Linked DNA regions of Homo sapiens: all the other regions are linked to region 4. The links are contacts of gene promoters, found by promoter capture Hi-C in blood cells and fetal thymus (Javierre and others, 2016). All regions are on one chromosome and are shown on one strand. The core of a region is centred on a gene start or on the middle of the fragment in contact, and the rest is flanking DNA. Distances in the headings are between cores, read along the strand shown.

Region 1 (4,765 bases), core at 1,607-4,106, 480 kb after region 4:
TCCATTGTGGTGTTCACAGTGCCAGGCACCTTGTGAATGCATAATAAATATTGAATGAATACCAAGGGAAGGGGTTAAAACTTTGTTCCCTTGCCATTAAAGCAGCACTGATGGTCTGAAGCTGGAGAATAAGGATAAGTCGTTCTGTGAATGCCTGGCCCCTAGTAAGCATTCAACAAGTGATTTGTTGAATGGAAGAAAATTGAATAAATTTTTGAGCCAGTCAATATGAACATTTTTAAGGCTCTTGGTATACATTGGCAAATTACTTTTCTAGGAAGGTTAAAACAGTCTAACCTTCCACCAACAGTGTATAAAGAATGTGTGTGTTGGCTAGGTGTGGTGGCTCATACCTGTAATCCCCACACTTTGTGAGGCTGAGGTGGGCGGATCACTTGAGATCAAGAATTCGAGACCAGCCTGGCCAACATGGTGAAACCCTTTCTCTACTAAAAATACAAAAAGTACCTGGGCATGGTGGTGCATGCCTGTAATCCCAGCTACTCGGGAGGCTGAGGCAGGAGAATTGCTTGAACCTGGGAGGCAGAGGTTGTAGTGAGCCGAGATTGCACCACTGCACTCCAGCCTAGGTGACAGAGCAAGATTCTGTCTCAAAAAAACAAAAAACAAAAAACAAAAAAAACTTGTAAATTTTACTTTTGTATTGGCTACTCAAGGCCAGTTTATCAGGCTGGATCCTATTTGAAGTTGGGAAGAATGGGAAGAAAACAGACACTGCTATCAGAGCAGCCTTAACTTACACCATTACTTACCTACTTCTTTCTCATCTCTTCAGGGTAGAGACCATCTTTATTATCCTATCCCAGGGTCAGGCATAGATCCTGGAAGACATCAGGGACTCAATCAACTGAAAGGTGTAGTTAGGGAAAGGGAGAGTTGCTTTTTTTTTATAAGGTTGAGAATCCCCATGCAGTAGCAGCAGTGAGTGTTGGATGGATGGATGGATGCATGCATGGATGCATAGATGCATGGATGGATGGATTAATGTTTAAAAGCATTTTTTTTCAGTCATCCAGTCACAAAATTATGGGGGAAAAAAAGGAATGTGTGTGTTGCCTTATCTTCGGAGTTAAATTTAGTCTTGGAAAATATAGTCATATGTTATGGGGATGTGTTCTGAGAAAAGCATCCCTAAGTGATTTTATCACAGATGAACATCATAGAGCATACTTACACAAAACTAAATGGTATAACTTACCATACACATAGGCTATACAGCATAGCCTGTTGCTCTTAATTTACAAACCCACACAGCATGTTACTTTAGTGAGTACTGTAGGCAGTTTTAACACAGTAGTATTTATGTAAGTAACAAATCTAAACGTGGAAGAGGTGTAGTAAAAATACAGTGTTATGGGTGTAAACTTGTGGTACCGCTATTGTATATGCAGTCTCATTCATTGACTAAAACATTGTGCAGTACATGACTATATATTGATCTAATGAGTCCCTGGAATTCATTCAGATAAACAAATAGTTTATCTCCCTAAGTTTTCATTAGGAGGTGACTTCTTTGAGTCTAATGCACCAATACACTGGTGTTGATTTTAGGATTTCTGGAAGAGATTTCTTATTTGTTTATTACTTTAATTTTTGTGGTAATCCTTGTATTTAAGCAAAATTTAAAAGCATCAAACACTTATTCAATGAAAAATAAGTCTCCCTTCCATTCCTGTTTCCAAACTTGCAGTTTCTTTCCTTGGAGGTACTTATTGGATCCATTTTCTTTCTTATGTGTCCTTTTAAGATGTAGTTTTTCTTTTTCTTTTTTTTTCTTTTGAGACAGAGTCTCTCTCTGTCACCCAGGCTGGAGTGCAGTGGCACGATCTTGGCTCACCACAGCCTCTGCCTTCCAAGTTTATGGGATTCTTCTGCCTCAGTCTCCTGAGTAGCTGGGATTACGGGCACCCGCCACCATGCCTGGCTAATTTTTTTTTTTTTTTTTATGAGACAGAATTTCACTCTTGTGGCCCAGACTGGAGTGCAATGGTGCAATCTCGGCTCACCGCAACCTCCGCCTCCCAGGTTCAAGTAATTCTACTGCCTCAGCCTCCTGAGTAGCTGGGATTACAGGCATGTACCACCACACCTGGCTAATTTTGTATTTTTAGTAGAGATGGCGTTTCACCATGTTGGCCAGGCTAGTCTCAAACTCCTGATCTCCGGTAATCAGCCCACCTTGGCCTCCCATAGTGCTAGGAATACAGATGTGAGCCACCGGGGCCGGTCCAAGTGTAGATTTTCTTGTCTTTAGGCAGCATTTTAAAGTTTTATTTGCCTACCTAGATCTTGCATGTTCCTTATTGGGTTTATGCCTGAGTGTTATGGGCTGAATTCGGTTCTCCCACAAAATCATATGAATCCCAAATTCCTATGGTGATGTCCTGACCACCAGTACCTCAGAATTGAGTATATTGGAGATAAGGCCTTAAAAGAGATAATTGAGTTAAAATTAGTTCATTAGAGTGTACCGTAATCCAAAATAACTGATGTCCTTCTATGAAGAGGACACAGACACTCAGAGGGAAGACCGTATAAACATATAAAGATACATGGAGGGCTGGGGCCGGGTGCAGTGGCTCACGCCTGTAATCCCAGCACTTTGGGAGGCCGAGGCAGGCAGATCACGAGGTCAGGAGATCAAGGCCATCCTGGCTAACACAGTGAAACCCTGTCTCTACTAAAAATACAAAAAAATTAGCTGGCGTGGTGGCAGGTGCCTAGTCCCAGCTACTTGGGAGGCTGAGGCAGGAGAATGGCATGAACCCAGGAAGTGGAGCTTGCAGTGAGCCAAGATCATGCCACTGCACTCCAACCTGGGTGACAGAGCAAGACTCCATCTCAAAAAAAAAAAAAAAAAAAAGATACATGGAGGGGTGGGCATGGTGGCTTATGCTGATAATTCCAATACCAACACTTGGGAGGTCGAGACAGGAAGATTGCTTGAGCCCAGGAGTTTGAGGCCAGCCTGGGCAACACAGTGAGACCCCATCTGTACAAAAAATAAAAAATTAGCCAGGTGTGGTGGTGTATACCTGTAGTTCCAGCTACTCAGGAGGCTGAGGTGGGAGGATCACTTGAGCCCAGGAGGTTGAGACTGCAGTGAGCCGTGATGGTGCCCCCTACACTCCAGCCTGGGTGGGCCTTGTTTTAAAAAAAAAAAAAATAAAAAAGACACATGGAAAAGGCAACCCATGAATGGAAAAAAGAAACTTCAGAAAAAGCCAACCCTCCCACCTTAACTAGATTATTTTGAAGCAAATCTTAAATATCATATAGTTTTATTTGTAAATTATTTAATAAGAGTGTTTTGTGAGTTTAATTATAAAACATCTTTTTATTTTTGGCAGGTAGATCATGGCAACCATAGAAGAAATTGCACATCAAATTATTGAACAACAGATGGGAGAGGTATGTCTAGTTTACGGTTGATGCACTGGCCCACCAAACTTTTCTAATTCCTACTAAATGCATATACCAGGTTCTGGAGTTCCAGAAATAAAAGATATTCCCTAACTTAAGATAGCTTTTCAAGCTACTGAGAGATAGTTGAATAATCAGACAATTCATAGTAGAATGTGGTAAGTTCTGTGACAGGTCATTGTATCAGGTGCAATGGGAGCACAGAAGAAAATTGAAAGGAATGAAGGGAAGGAAGGAAGGAAAGAAATTAAAGAGCTGTAGAGTGAGTAGGAATGCTTTTGAGGGAATTCTTTTTAGAGGGTACAATCTGAGCCTAGTTTTGGTGGGATCAGTAGGAGTTCAGCATCAATACTGACATCTTCATTTTTTTAAATGGTTGTGTCCTATTACTTAGTAAGAGATACCACATAATTTGGAAGTTCTCAAAGTATTATCTGGGGACACTTCAGAGAATCAACCAGGTGAAGACCATTTTTATAATAATACTGAAATGTTATTTGCCTTTTCAGTATTGTTCTCTCCCAGGTATACAATGGAATTTTCTACAGACTGTGTGACATGTGATGATACTATATGATGAAATGTGTCAGCATTTATAAGGTGTACATAACTCAATGAATCATTGCTTTCCGGATGACCAGTGTATAATGTTACAAAATTATGCATGAGTGAAGGATCCATTTAAATTGCAGGATAGACCAACAGATTTTAATATAGTTTATGACTCTACATTGCTGCTAACCTTTGAAAAGCTGCCACTTGTTGAGTTGATGTAGTGTCGAACAACTTTCACAGTTTGAAAAGGGTATTAAAATATCCTTCCCCTTTTCAACCAATAAATACGAAGCTGAATTTTCTTTAACATATATACATATATGTATGTATGTATATGTATATATATGGTGAAGAAATAGGTTTCCGGCTGATTTTTTGTGGCCATTTTTTGTGCTCACGTGCCTGGCTGATGTTTTATATATTTTGTAGCAACAGGGTTTTGTCATGTTGCCCAGGCTGGTCTGGAGCTCCTGGGCTCAAGCAGTTCACTGGCCTTGGCCTTCCAAAGCGCTGGGATTACAGGCGTGAGGTGCTGTGCCCAGCCTTGTTATAACCAAAACAACATAGTCTAACAGATTAAATAAAGAAACAGATATGAGATTCCAACTTCTGTTAAACTAGATATTAAAGCAATTTGTAGAAATGTAAAACAAAGCCACTCTCTGCACTACATTTTTGTTTGTTTGGAAAATAAACTTTTTAGTCATTAAGAAATAGGTTATAATGGGTACAAAAAAATAGGATGAATGAATTAGACCTAGTATTT
Region 2 (4,573 bases), core at 582-3,081, 470 kb after region 4:
GGAGGCTGGGGCACGAGAAGTGCTTGGACCCAAGAGGCAGAGGTTGCAGCGAGCTGAGATTGTGCCACTGCACTCCAGCCTGGGTGACAGAGTGAGACTGTCTTAAAAAAAAAAAAAAAAAAAAAAAGGCCGGTGTGGTGGCTCACGCCTGTAATCCCAGCACTTTGGGAGGCCAAGGCGGGTGGATCACAAGGTCGGGAGATGGAGACCATCCTGGCTAACATGATGAAACCCCATCTCTACTAAAAATATACAAAAAAAAAAAATAGCCGGACGTGGTGGCAGGCGCCTGTAGTCCCAGCTACTCGGGAGGCTGAGGCAGGAGAATGGCGTGAACCTGGGAGGTGGAGCTTGCAGTGAGCTGAGATCGGGCCACTGCACTCCAGCCTGGGTGACAGAGCAAGACTCAGTCTCAAAAAAAAAAAAAAAAAAAAAGAAAAAAAAAATCAATCAGTAAAAGCTTACTGTCTTTTTGCATAGAGATGAAAACATTTTCAACTTTTTATGAAGTAAAAATTAGCCTCTTTTCTTTCTTACTATAATTTGGGAAGCAAAGATTGATTCTTAAAATGAGCTTCCTTAATAGTAGAATTTTCTGTTTATTATTCTGTTTGTATGGTTTTTAGAAGTCCAAAAAGTTTTTTAGGAACAGAATTAAAGGTTCAAATAATTTTCCCTGATGCCCCAAAATAAGAGCAATAAAAAACAAATCCCCAAGTCCCCAAATCCAGCTTTTAGAAAAGCATTTTAGTCTTCTGGAACTATTTTTCTTCACCTGCCAACCCAGAAAACACAGATGAACCCACCAAGAAACATACGCAAACACGTGCAGGCACAGTTAAACCAAGTAAAATTCTATAATTGCCTCTAACATGGTTGTCTTCTTTTTTGTGCTCATGTTAATAGCAGAGTTCAATTTGTATAGTAGCACTTTGAAAATATATTTCATTCTGAAACATTCTATCATTACAGTTATTGCTTTCAGCACCTATTGGTTGCAAATAATTTTGCTGTTATAATTTGTCTGAAAACCATTAAACTTTGTATGGGGTTTCTTATCTAGGTATCAGCAAACACAGAGGATTCTTCTATGAGTGGCTACTTGTACAGATCAAAGGGCAATAAAAAACCCTGGAAACACTTTTGGTTTGTCATAAAAAATAAAGTACTATATACATATGCTGCAAGTGAGGTAAGATCTGAAATCTAAAGATGAGTAATTTGGGGTTTTGTAATGCCAACTGCAAGTAATTACAATATTTTAAAAATCCATTTATTTTACATAAGATTTTTTGCTTTGCTTTTGGATGGGGGAGGTGTTGTTGCTGTTATTTTTAATGTGAACAGTGTTCTTGCTTTGTACCTGGAGAGCTCTTTCTCAAATGTGTTAGGAATTTTCCATATTATTAAAATGCAATTTTTGTGTGTGTCGTGTGACTACTAATTACTTTACTAAAGGCAGAGCTGCCCCCAGGTGCACTGGCTCACACCTGTAATCCCAGCACTTTGGGAGGCTGAGTGGGGGTGGATCACCTGAGGTCAGGAGTTCGAGACTAGCCTGGCCAACATGGCGAAACCCCGTCTCTACTAAGAATACAAATATTAGTGGAGTGCCTGTAATCCCAGACACTTGGGAGGGTGAAGCAGGAGAATTGCTTGAACCCGGGAGGCAGAGGTTGCAGTGAGCTGAGATCGTGCCACTGCACTCCAGCCTGGGCAACAGAGAGACTCTGTCTCAAAAAAAAAAAAAAAAAAAAAGGCAGAGCTGTGTTTCTTTCTGCCAAGCTCTCTTGAGTGATACTCCCTTTACTGTCATCGTTAGATTGCATTGATCTGACAGCAGCATAGATAAGATAGGCTTTTTTGGATTATAAACAATTCTAGCAGTTTACTCTAATTCTGTCCTTTTCTCCTACCTGATCACCCTGTGTTCCACCATCCTATGAAAACACTGCTGTAGGGTCCACACTTTTCCTTAGTGAGATCCAGGTGAATAGCTTACCTTTCTGAGCTGTTTTCTGCATCCATAAAATGAAAGTAATATAATCACGTGCCTTCCTTGGTTTAGTGAGGATGTTGTGAAATTCAGTAGATGTGAACATGCCAGAAATTGTGTGCCACAGTGCCTGGCATATAGGGTACCTAGGGAGGGAGTGGCTCAATGAATATTATTGAATAAATGAGAAGTGAGTAAGTTGTTAGAATTATCATTACCTTATATGTGAATAATTGAAATTAAATTAGAGCTATGTAGATCAAGAGTTTTCAAATCTGAATTTTGTCTCAATCTAAAAACTTTTCTCCATTTGTATGTTTTTAAATTAGGACGTGGCCGCTTTGGAGAGTCAGCCTTTATTAGGATTCACTGTTATTCAAGTTAAAGATGAGAATTCCGAGTCTAAAGTATTTCAGTTACTGCACAAAAACATGTTATTTTATGTATTCAAAGCAGAGGATGCTCATTCGGCTCAGAAGTAAGTAATCTGGCCATATTTTTCTTTTATTCATGAGATTTCAGTTTTTTAATGGTTGCTTGTAAAATGACCTACTTTAAGGCATGGGGACAACTCAAAATTTACATCAGAGATTTTAATTAGAAAGATTTAACGTATTATTTAAACTCTTCAGAATTGTTTTAAAGACAAGGCAGGGGTATCTGGAATATTTTCAGGAGGCAGAGGGGAAAAGAAAATAGGTAGTCCTATACAAAGTATTTTATCTACACGTGATCTCAGAGGAAGCAGCGTGATGCTGCTCTGCTGAAAGGAAGGAAAGCTAAGGCATTTGACCTCTCCTTCTATGAGGGTAAGAATCTTCCCTTGAAACATTCCAGGACTTTGGCAATCCAGCGATTCATTTGTGCCATGGAACAGCAGGAGTTTAAACAGCTGCTCGCTAACTTCTTTGGGGAAAAGGTCAAACACATTAAGAGACTCCCATGCTGTTCCAGTGACTGAGTAGAAGGAAATGGCTATCAGTTTAGATGGCAAAGGCTGAAACAGTCTCCTCAGAATTCCAGCAAGAATCTTTACTTAGATGTTATCAGTTTGCTTAACATAGAGATGCGTATCTACCTCTGTGAAATTAGGTCTCTTTTGAACAAAATAGTTCATCATCTCTCATTTGATTTTTACCTTGGCTTCACAAAAGAATACATTTTTGTTTTCAGGAAGAGGTGTTCATGTGTTCTCCACAAGCTTAAAAGTGCATGAAAATAAAAAAGAATGCTTTGAGTGAGCAAAGCTTTTAGTTTCTTAAGACAGTTAAGATTAATGTACCAGAATTGCACACATCCCTGAATACCAGCCAGGCACAATGTTACACACACTCTGTAAGACTCTTTTTTCAGTCTATTTTAGGATATCCAACAGTATATAGCTATTCTTCCAAATATTTTCCTTTGGCTACTGGAGAATATTTTTAAATTATGTCACTTAACCATCTTTTCTATAAAAATTATTTAGACAAAATAGTAATTGCCCTAATATTGTCAGATATTAGCTTTCTTACAATTTTCATCAAACTGAAAAAAAGTACTGCTTTTCAATATATGTCATCTTTTGCTTATATCATTGAGTTGACAAGATAGAAATGCCACCAAGACAGAATTACATGTAGTTAGGTAAAGGAAGTCAGTTTACTTATAATTTAGAATTGACCCAGGCTAAATTATAAATTTCTCTTTATTAATATCATATGGATTGCTTTTTGAAGTACATGACAGAATATTAAAATGTATTAATTTTAGTGGGAAAAAAGCCTTGCTATGGCAGTATAACATGCTATTTATGTTCAATATTAAATTTTTGAAAATTCCTTAAAATTTGAACTGAATCTGTTATAGGTTGCTTTTACAAAATAATTAAACTGAGTGATTTCAAGTGTTCATAGTTCTCTGGACTCTCTTCTGTGTGTGTGTGTGTGTGTGTGTATGTGTGTGTATATATATATATATATATTTTTTTTTTTTTTTTTTTTTTTTTTTTTAATGGAGACAGAGTCTAGCAATGTTGCCCAGGCTGGTCTGAAACTCCTGGGCTCAAGCAGTCCACCTATCTCAGCCTCTCAAAGTGCTGGAATTACAGGTGTGAGCCACCATGCCCAGCCTACATAAAATAATACCGTAAGAAATGATATTTCCATAAGAAAGAAGAAAAAGTTCAGAAGCAATTACATTAGTAGGGAGGAAAAAGACTACTCTCAAGTATCTTCTGAATAATTGCAGCTGTGTATATTGTCAGATAAAACTTTGAGACTAAAGAATTTTGGAAAGATGTCTGTGAAACTTTGAGAAGCTCTTTTTTTTTTTTTTTTTTTGAGACAGTCTCGCTCTGTTGCCCAGGCTGGAGTTCAGTGGCGCAGTCTCAGCTCACTGCAACCTCTGCCTCCTGGGTTCAAGCAATTCTCCTGCCTCAGCCTCCCAAGTAGCTGGGATTACAGGCGCACACCACCACGCCCAGCTAATTTTTGTATTTTAGTAGAGACAGGGTTTCACCATATTGGCCAGGCTGGTCTCGAACTTCTGACCTCAGGTGATCTGCCCAACTCAGCCTCCCAAAGTACTGGGATTACA
Region 3 (4,555 bases), core at 1,565-4,064, 440 kb after region 4:
AAGTGCTGGGATTACAGATGTGAGCCACCATGCCCAGCAACGCCTGGGTCTAACTGCAGAAACATGTTAAGCAAGTCCATTAATTTTATGAATTTTGATCACATTTTTTTTTTTTAATTTTTTGAGACAGAGTCTTACTTTGTCACCCAGGCTGGAGTGCAGTGGCATGAACACGGCTCACTGCAGCCTCAACCTCCTGGGCTCAAGTAATTCTCTTGCCTCAGCCCTCCAAGTAGTTGGGATTACAGGCACATACCATCACACCCTGCTAATTTTTATATTTTTTGTAGAGACAGGGTTTCACTATCTTGCCCAGGCTGGTCTCGAACTCCTGAGCTCAAGCGATCCACCTGCCTCAGTCTCCCAAAGTGCTGGGATTACAGGCATGAGCCACCACACCTGGCCTGATCACATTCTTGTATATCCTTTACATTTGCAGAGTAAAAAGTGAACATTTTTAACCCTTTTTGTAGAGATTCTTATATATTCTTTTAATCATTTTACTTCTCTTAACATCTTCTGTTTGTGTACATTATGCTTTTAAAGGCGGTTTTTTTTAAAGGAAAAGCTTGTGGTTGGGGATCTGACAAGTTTCCTGTCTTCAGTGATCATATCTAGTTGATGAAGAAGTTTATAATATCCATCAAATAAAGAACAAAGCAAATGACTTCAAAGTAAGGGTGCACCGAGCAGGACAGAATTATTTGGATGACAGAGAAAAGTGTGAAGGTTAAAGAGGCAGGGAAGCTTTGCAGGAAAAAGTAGGACTGGAGATGAGTGGGAGAGTGGGTGAGAGGAAAAATGAGCATTCCCGACGGCAGCCCCTCTCGTGAGGATACAAATTATACATGGAACTTATAGAATAGAAAGAAAACATCTGTCCTGGGTCCTGGGCTTCTGCCTTCAATGAAAGTGAGTTATTAGCTCCATTTTACACATAAAACAAATTCAGGGTCAGAGATTAAGGAGCTTATTTAAAGGAAATTACATGTGACAGCAAAGACATAGATGAGAAAACCAGTGAACAGTGAGGCCCACTGTATGGCCAGAGGCACAGCAATCATATGGTGAGCAGTGGCCGGGCGTGGTGGCTCATGCCTATAATCCCAGCAATTTGGGAGGCCGAGGCAGGTGGGTCACTTGAGGCCAGGAATTCAAGACCAGCCTGGGCAACATGGCAAAACCCTTTGCTACTAAAAATACAAAGATTAGTGGGGCATGGGGGTGCATGCCTGTAATACCAGGTACTCAGTAGCTGAGGCATGAGAATCGCTTGAACCTGGGAGATGGAGGTTGTAGTAAGCCGAGATCCCGCGACTGCACTGTAGCCTGGGCGACAGAGCAAGACTCTGTCTCAGGAAAAAAAGAGTGGTGAGCAGTGTGGATGAGACTTCAAGGGTGAGGGAAGGTGAGGCAAGAATAACTTTGAAAGGTAGGCAGAAGAGTTAAAGGAATAGAGGCATCAGGGCCTCTTAACGGGATGACGTGGGGAAAGTAGAATCACAGCATGGAGTAGGGAAGGTAGAGCTTGGGAGACCAGGTGACCAAGTAGCAGCAGCAGCTTTGTCATCCATTAAATCTTAAGGCATCTCTCCCCTGTCCACCGGGAATTCCAGCAGGCCAGAAAGCAGGAAATGTGTCCACGGTAACCTCTTGAACCTGCTGTGAAAAGGGTACCAGGCACCGTAAATTCTGATACATGGCTGAGTACCGTGGCTCACACCTGTAATCCCAGCACTTTGGGAGGCTGCGGCGGGTGGATCACCTGAGGTCAGGAGTTTGAGACCAGCCCTGCCAACATGGCGAAACCCCGTCTCTACTAAAAATACAAAAATTAGCTGGGCATACTGGTGTGCACCTGTAATGTCAGCTATGCAGGAGACTGAGGCAGGAGAATTGCTTGAATCTGGGAGGCGGAGGTTGAGTAAGCCAAGATCATGCCACTGCACTTCAGCCTGGGAGACAGAGCAAGACTGTCTCAAAAAAAAAAAAAAATTCTGATATATAGTCAGGGTCTCTATATAAGGAAAAACCTGCTTTCCTTTAATAATAGTGATGATGATACATGTGGAAAGAATACAGGCCGGGTGTGGTGGCTCACACCTGTAATCCCAGCACTTTGGGAGGCTGAGGCGGGCGGATCACGAGGTCAGGAGATCAAGACCATCCTGGCTAACACGGTGAAACCCCGTCTCTACTAAAAATACAAAAAATTAGCTGGACGTGGTGGCAGGTGCCTGTAGTCCCAGCTACTTGGGAGGCTGAGGCAGGAGAATGGTGTGAACCCGGGAGGTGGAGCTTGCAGTGAGCCAAGATCGCGCCACTGCACTCCAACCTGGGTGACAGAGCAAGAAAAAAAAAAAGAATACAGAAGCCTCCACGGCTGGTACCAGGAAGACAGTCCTTTGATAGATTACAATAACTGGACCAAAACACCTCAACCCCTTTTCAGAAATTGATTTACTGTTGTTGTTTTTGTTTCGTTTTGTTTTGTTGAGACAGGGCCTCATTCTGTCACCTAGGCTGGAATGCAGTGGTGTGATCTGGGCTCACTGCAGCCTTGACCTCCTGGGCTCAAATGATCCTCCCACCTGAGCGCCCCAAATTGCTGGACTGCAGACATGAGCCACGACACCCAGCTAATTTTTGGATTTTTTGTGGAAACAAGGTTTTACCTTATTGCTGAGGCTGGTCTCGATCTCCTGAGCTCAAATGATCCGCCCACCTCAGCCTTCCAAAGTGTTCGGATTACAGGCGTGAGCCACCGCGCCCAGCCACTCTTTTTTTTAATAGTCCTTTTTTTGATGACCACTGTCACTGCCACAGCAGCCTCAGGAGGAGATGCTTCCCTCTCTAACACTCTACCAGTTTTTCTCAGTGGGAATGCTACTGTCATATTGTTCTGAATAATCTTTGTGTGGGTTTCTAAGGAGTATTGCATGGAGTTTGGCATCCCTGCCTCCTACCCACCAAAGGCCAGTGGATCTTCCTGGTCATTGTGACAAGCAAAAATTGTCTTTACACAGGTTCACATGTCCCTAAGGGAGCACTATGGCCTTGGGTTGAGAATAACTGCAGCCCCAAAGCTGAGAAAATGCAGACTTTTTCCTTTAGACCTAGTTATAAAGATGACAAGGCTGGAGTATGGAAAAACACTTTGCTAAAGGCAAAGGGTTAATAAAAAGAATAAAACACAGATAGGCCCATGAAGCTAATAACCCAGCTCACAAAATGACACTTGCAAATTCCTAAGATCTGGGATGCTTCCATGTGGCATTTCCCCCATTTCTAATTCATGCCTCTTGGAATCAGACTAAGAGACTGAGACCTGATCTTAGTCATTTCTTGTAGTTTTTATTTCCTATAACAAGATCCTTTTTCCTCACGATCCTTTTCTCCCAAGACAGTTTATACTGGGCTGGTCCTTATCTTCCAGGTGAAATCCCATCCTTATCTTTGTAAACTTGAATAGGATAATCAAATCACAGCACAAAACAACCCTGACATTCATACTGTTAGTAAACATGGTCTACAGTGTCTCTTTAGAGTCTTCTTTTGGCTCATTGTTTCCCTATATATTGTTTTGGCCAGGTTTTTGGTGGTGGTGGTGTTGTTTGGTTTGGTTTGGTTTTGCCTTCATTGAACCTTATATTTCTGCCTACTCACAGTCAATAAGCTCCTCCAGAGGTTGGTTGCTATAAACTAGCTATCTTGTCCCCTGGAATTGCTTAATGTTGCAAACTATTTGTTTCCATTGTAATTACTAAATGCACGTTTTGTTCCTGCCTATTTCAGATGCCCTTGCTGTTGTTATAGAGGTAGCCAACCACGCCAATGACACCATGAAGCAAGGAGTAAGTGTCTTGTTGTCAGTGGCTGGTGTGGTCTTGAACCTGAAAGCCCAGGCCTTCATATGCTTTCCATTGTCTTTCTGTAGGACAACTTTCAGAAACTTATGCAAATTCAGTACAGCTTAAATGGACACCATGAAATTGTGCAGCCTGGTCGGGTAAGCATTTTACATTGCTTTTCGCAAACTTAATACGATGCATTTAGGTACCATCTGTATCTGTTTATCATTTTATAAAAATAGGTTGTTTTTGTTACTCTTCATTGATTCAATTTTGATCACTTTATCCGTTCAAAACATTCATGATGTAAGTCACTGTGACAATTCAATTAGGAATAAGCCCATTTATGAAGTAAGTCCAGTTCAATTAGGGGAGCGGCAAGGGACCCCACAGAGTATCTGATTTAATGGGATCGTTTTCTTGTGTGATGCCAGCGACCTCACACAGTTTTGAAGACAATTTCATTTAACATCTTTAATGTAAGAGAGGATTATGAAGGGAGGGGGGAGATTGGTATTTTGATCCTCCTCATATAGCACAAAAGTGGCCTAGGGAATTAATTCGGGAAAATTACAAAATGCGGTTGTCAGGATGTTGGGTATGCTTCAGGATCAAGTACACGCTCAGTCAATTACATGTGCCTCCATACAGTATCCCAGGGGCCAATATTGGAATTATCCAACCCTGCTTGCTTGTCCGATTCC
Region 4 (4,650 bases), core at 1,947-4,446:
GGTTTCTTTTAAATGATGCAATATCACGTTGTATTAAGGGGGCCTTCTATTTACTTTTCTTATCTTTTACAACCCAGGAGCGACACTGCAGGATTTCAATTTCCAAATGGTTTGGCAAGATGTAAATAATTATACAAATAGCTACAGTTATCCATCTACACTTTCCTCATTCTATTATTTTTTTTTAAAAAAAAGAAATGGGTTTAAAAACATGTATAGAGTATAAAAACAAAACTTGGGTACCCCAATAATCTCTTCCTCATGAAAAGTTACTAGTATCTTTTTGGCATGGTTTACTAAAACTTTAAGAGTTGAAATTTCCACCTGTAGTGCCTTTTCTTTTCTCCCCCTCTCTCCCTCTGCCTTTCCAGATCCTTTCCCTCCCTACTATGAGAGAGGAAGACTAAAATAGTATTGCCATGTTTCTCAGAGTAATAGAATTAATTTTAACCTTTATAGCACTTGTCCTTGAATTGACTATTACTTTAGTACAGAAGTAAAACTTGATTTAAGGGAATACTGCTTATCTATCCTGAGTGAGGTTCTGTATTAATTGCTATAGGGGTTGTAAATATGAACAAAAGTCTGTTTCTGACTTCAAAGAACTTTACAGGGTAATAGTAAACCTAAGAGAGAAATAATGATAAACACACTGACTTTTCTCCTTACAGTTTAGGCAGGTTCCATGGACAAAACCTCATTTGGTCCTTAAAACATTATTGTGAAGAAGATAGGACAGATACTATTTTCCAAACTCTACAAATGAGATAGAAATTTTAAAAATCCTGAAAGGATTGCAAATAACTAGATGGACAAATTGTTATTATAGCTAAATGAGTTCTAATTATATATGTGCATATGAGTATATATATGTGTGTCTGCGTGTATTGTGTGTGTGTGTGTGTGTGTGTATTCTGCTGTCATCACCTCCCATAGCTTATCCTTGGAAAGGAAGTACCTTGGCTTAGCAAAATATCTATCCCACTGATCTGTCACAATGTTTAAAATGTCATTTTAGAAATTCCAAACTCTGGGTGTCTACAGGAGGTAGAACAGTCTGAGAGAGAAATGGAAAAAAAAATACTAAACACTAATAATACAAAGTAGATAACTTTACTTCATAACTGAGCTCCTTAGATAATGACAGGTTGGGGCCAGGCATGGTGGCTCATGCTCGTAACCCCAGCACTTTGGGAGGCCGGGGCACAAGGATTGCTTGAGGCCAGGAGTTTGAGACCAGCCTGGGTAGCATAGGGAGAACCCCCCTCCACCCCCACATCTCTACAAAAAATCAATTAGCAGAAGTTGTGTCGCATGCCTGTGGTCCCAGTTACACAGGAAGCTGAGGTGGGAAGATTGCTTGAGCCTGAGAGGTCAAGGCTGCAGTGAGCCATGATCACGCTACTGCACTCCAGCCTGGTGACAAAACCCTGTCTCCATTTTAAAAATAAATAAAAAGAGAGAATGAAAGGTTGGTGTACCTGTCCTGAACAAAATGGGAAGAGTTTTGATGGGAAGGAAGAGAGACAGACTGCAGTAAAGCCCTGGACACAGCATCCTGAGGATCCCTGTAAAAGTGAGTATAGAGTGGGCCAGGCGTGGTGGCTCACGCCTGTAATCCCAGCACCTGGGGAGGCCGAGGCGGGCAGATCACGAGGTCAGGAGTTGGAGACCAGCCTGACCAACATGGTGAAACCCCGTCTCTACTAAAAATACAAAAATTAACCAGGCGTGGTGGTGCATACCTGTAATCCCAGGTACTCAGGAGGCTGAGGCAGGGGAACTGCTTGAACCCGGGAGGCGGAGGTTGCAGTGAGCCGAGATCACGCCACGGCACTCCAACCTGGGTGACAGAGCGAGACTCTGTCTCAAAAAAAAAAAAAAAAAGAAAAGAAAAGAAAAGAAAAACTGAGTATAGGGTGGAGGTGGAGTGGATGTTTATGTTTAAAAAGGGGGAGAAATGGACTCACTTCACAATTTTGCTTCCATTTATACCTAAACCCTGGGGCTCAGGGTTTCAGTTTCCAGTAGGCCTATGTTGGAAATTCACCTGCAAGGTACAAGTTTCCCTGACAGACCACCAAATAAACAATGGTCTTTTAAAAACAAATCAACTTTGGTACCATCTACTCAGCTGGCATTTACCTTCCTTACCTGCTACCAACCTCATTCTTAGAATTAAAGAAAAAAGGCGAATTCTAAAGCCCCTTCTACTCACTTTCCTCCACTAAGGCCATAGCTTACATCTGCTGCTCTTTTTTCCATACTCCTTTTTTCTCAACTCCTTTCTTTCATATTTGCCAGAAATTTAAGGTCGTTTGGGTTCCTCTCATTTAAAAAGTTCAACTGAAGTGTGTTGCTACACCTTAATCAAAAGTTTATGGCTGAGTTATTTAGCGTTTCTTTACCCACTTCCTCTGCTCAATCCTTCATCTCCTCATAACCATTGAAATGAATGCTATGAATATCTCAATGCTTAGCATGGTGCCAGGCATTTAGGTGTTGAAAAAAATGTTAAGCGAATATTAGTTATTAGGTAAGAGCATTGTCTGTAAAACTCTGAAAAGTCTTAAAAGTGATTCCTAAAATTTCACAAGCTCATAAATTCTTTAGTCTGCAATTATGATTCCTGAAATATTCTTCGATTCATGAAAGACTGGACTAGGAAATTCTAAAAATCGACATAAAGCATAAAAAGCCACTCTGAGGTTTATGAAATTTACAATGTTTTGTCTTCTTTTAATTCATTCGTACTTTTCTCTCAGGATACAAAGGGCAAAACTGTTTGTGTAGTAACTCAGAATTGAGTAGTTACACATCCATTAGGTTTCAGAATCGTTAAAATTTTATCTGGTTTAGGAAACTGCTTACCTTGGAAGGGCAAATTGCCATTTCTCTCCATCTGGGGATCAGGGAAGCAAGGGAAGCCCCCCTAAACATCACTTCCACGCTCCTATATTATGCTAAGGAACTTCTGGTTGATTCATTAGGCATTTCAGCAGTGTTTTTGGCCGGTACTAGGAACTGTGGAGAGGTATAGAAAGGGAGCAAGTGCACAGTCCCGGCCCCCAAAGAGGTTACGATGCAAATAGAAGCAGGCTCAGAACTCGGAACAAAAGCAGTGACTGCATAATAATGCACTGCTGGGGGTGGGGGATGGGGATCTGCACGCCCGGTTTGTGACTTCAGGAAAGCAGTTTCCAGGAGGTGAGAGTTTAAGCCAAACCTGAAAGAGGTTGATTTGTAATGATTTGCAGGGGGGCACTGGAGGCAGCCGCCAGGACTTTTCACTTAGGAGATCAGCATTTGCCCTGATGGAAACTGGGCGATCCTGCAGGGACTGACCTCTGAGTTATCCAAAGGCCGACCTGGGGAAAGACTGATTTTGAGGTTTTAATAGGTAAGTTTGGGGACATCATTGATGAAGGTGGGCAGGGAAGGAGGCTTTTTTCTTTTCTTTTTTTTAATGTTACAGTAAAAAGCTTAGATTCGATGAGACGGGTTAAAAAACAAATAGGAAAATTTAAGGAGAAGAATGACTATGATTGCTATGTAAAAATAAAATTGCAATAGAGAGGTTCTGGAGCTCAGGAAATGAGCTAGAGCATGCTATAATTTAGGCCTAGATAGTGAAGATCATGAATAAAATGGTAGCTGAGGAAATTTCAAAGTTGAATAAGTAGTAATAAGTATGAAGAAAAAGCTAAACTACAAACATCTGCTCTTTAATTACTAACACTAGTAATGAGAATTTGTCTCCAGCCTCTTCCCTTCCCACTCCGCACCTCTTCCTAGCTTACATCATTGTATTAAGGCATTTTATTGAAGACACTATTCAGCACTCTCCACCTATGCCTTACACAGCTTGCCTTTGCTTTTCTTCCCATTTCACTTTTTCTCTTCATTTATTCACATCATTTTAGTCCTTAAAAGACCCCGCCCAATTACTAGATCAGAGGGAGGCAACTAAGACTCTTCCTATCTCCCAAACGACCTTCCAGAATGGTTTTATGGCATTATAATAGGAAAGCAAGAGTTTTGATTTTTCTATTATTAATATTTTGCTTTCAAGGAATTACAGGAAAAACCATATTGCATGCCAGAAATACTTAAATTTTAAATATTTCATCTTAAGAGATGCCCTCATGTAATGCTTTTAATGCATTTGAGAAATTCAGGTGGTGGGCAAAAGTACAACATAGAGGTTAGATGTTTTGAGTGGGAGAAGTGCACTGGGGTCATTATTGAATCAGAATTATTATGCACTTAAATATATAGAAAAAAGAACAAAATGAGTATTAAACTATGCAAATTCATCCCTTTAATCTTTATTTGCATGACTACATTTTATGCAGTTGTAACCTTAATGTACATATTTGGTATTTTTTTCAAACATGAATTGATTAGACATTGTTGCTATTTTGTATCTATTTTGTTAACATAAGAACTTCCTGTGTTATATCAGATTTTTTTTTTTTTTTTTTTTTTCTGAGACGGAGTTTCGCTCTTGTTGCTGCCCAGGCTTGAGTGCAATTGTGGATCTAGGCTCACCACAACCTCCGCCTCCTGGGTTCAAGCGATTGTCCTGTCTCAGCCTACCGAGTAGCTGGGATTACAGGTGCCCGCCACCAGGCCCGGATAATTTTTGTA

The links. The method cuts DNA at HindIII sites, captures the fragments that hold promoters and counts their contacts. A CHiCAGO score of 5 or more calls a contact.
Region 1: a fragment that was not itself captured here is called in contact with the fragment with the promoter of USP44 in region 4 in 2 of 17 cell types (naive CD8 T cells and activated CD4 T cells); the score reaches 6.7 in naive CD8 T cells.
Region 2: a fragment that was not itself captured here is called in contact with the fragment with the promoter of USP44 in region 4 in 1 of 17 cell types (erythroblasts); the score reaches 5.0 in erythroblasts.
Region 3: a contact is called between a fragment that was not itself captured here and the fragment with the promoter of USP44 in region 4, in 7 of 17 cell types (total CD8 T cells, non-activated CD4 T cells, naive CD4 T cells and 4 more). The highest score is 11.3, in total CD8 T cells.

What each region holds. Positions count from the first base shown.
Region 1 is chr12:95,065,998-95,070,762 of GRCh38, reverse strand. NR2C1 (nuclear receptor subfamily 2 group C member 1) reads left to right here. Exons shown (of 14, transcript NM_003297.4): 2 at 3,372-3,432. The coding sequence starts at 3,379. Among named protein-coding and RNA genes, the nearest start is that of NR2C1, 5.2 kb to the left of the region's middle. The HindIII fragment of the contact is 9,664 bases long and covers 1-4,765 here.
Region 2 is chr12:95,082,399-95,086,971 of GRCh38, reverse strand. It overlaps FGD6 (FYVE, RhoGEF and PH domain containing 6), which reads left to right. Exons shown (of 21, transcript NM_018351.4): 19 at 1,064-1,192; 20 at 2,326-2,474. Among named protein-coding and RNA genes, the nearest start is that of NR2C1, 11 kb to the right of the region's middle. The HindIII fragment of the contact is 2,737 bases long and covers 463-3,199 here.
Region 3 is chr12:95,107,802-95,112,356 of GRCh38, reverse strand. FGD6 (FYVE, RhoGEF and PH domain containing 6) reads left to right here. Exons shown (of 21, transcript NM_018351.4): 10 at 3,796-3,854; 11 at 3,938-4,009. Among named protein-coding and RNA genes, the nearest start is that of NR2C1, 36 kb to the right of the region's middle. The HindIII fragment of the contact is 4,130 bases long and covers 750-4,555 here.
Region 4 is chr12:95,550,022-95,554,671 of GRCh38, reverse strand. USP44 (ubiquitin specific peptidase 44) reads left to right here and starts at 3,196. Exons shown (of 6, transcript NM_032147.5): 1 at 3,196-3,400. The HindIII fragment of the contact is 4,508 bases long and covers 1-3,484 here.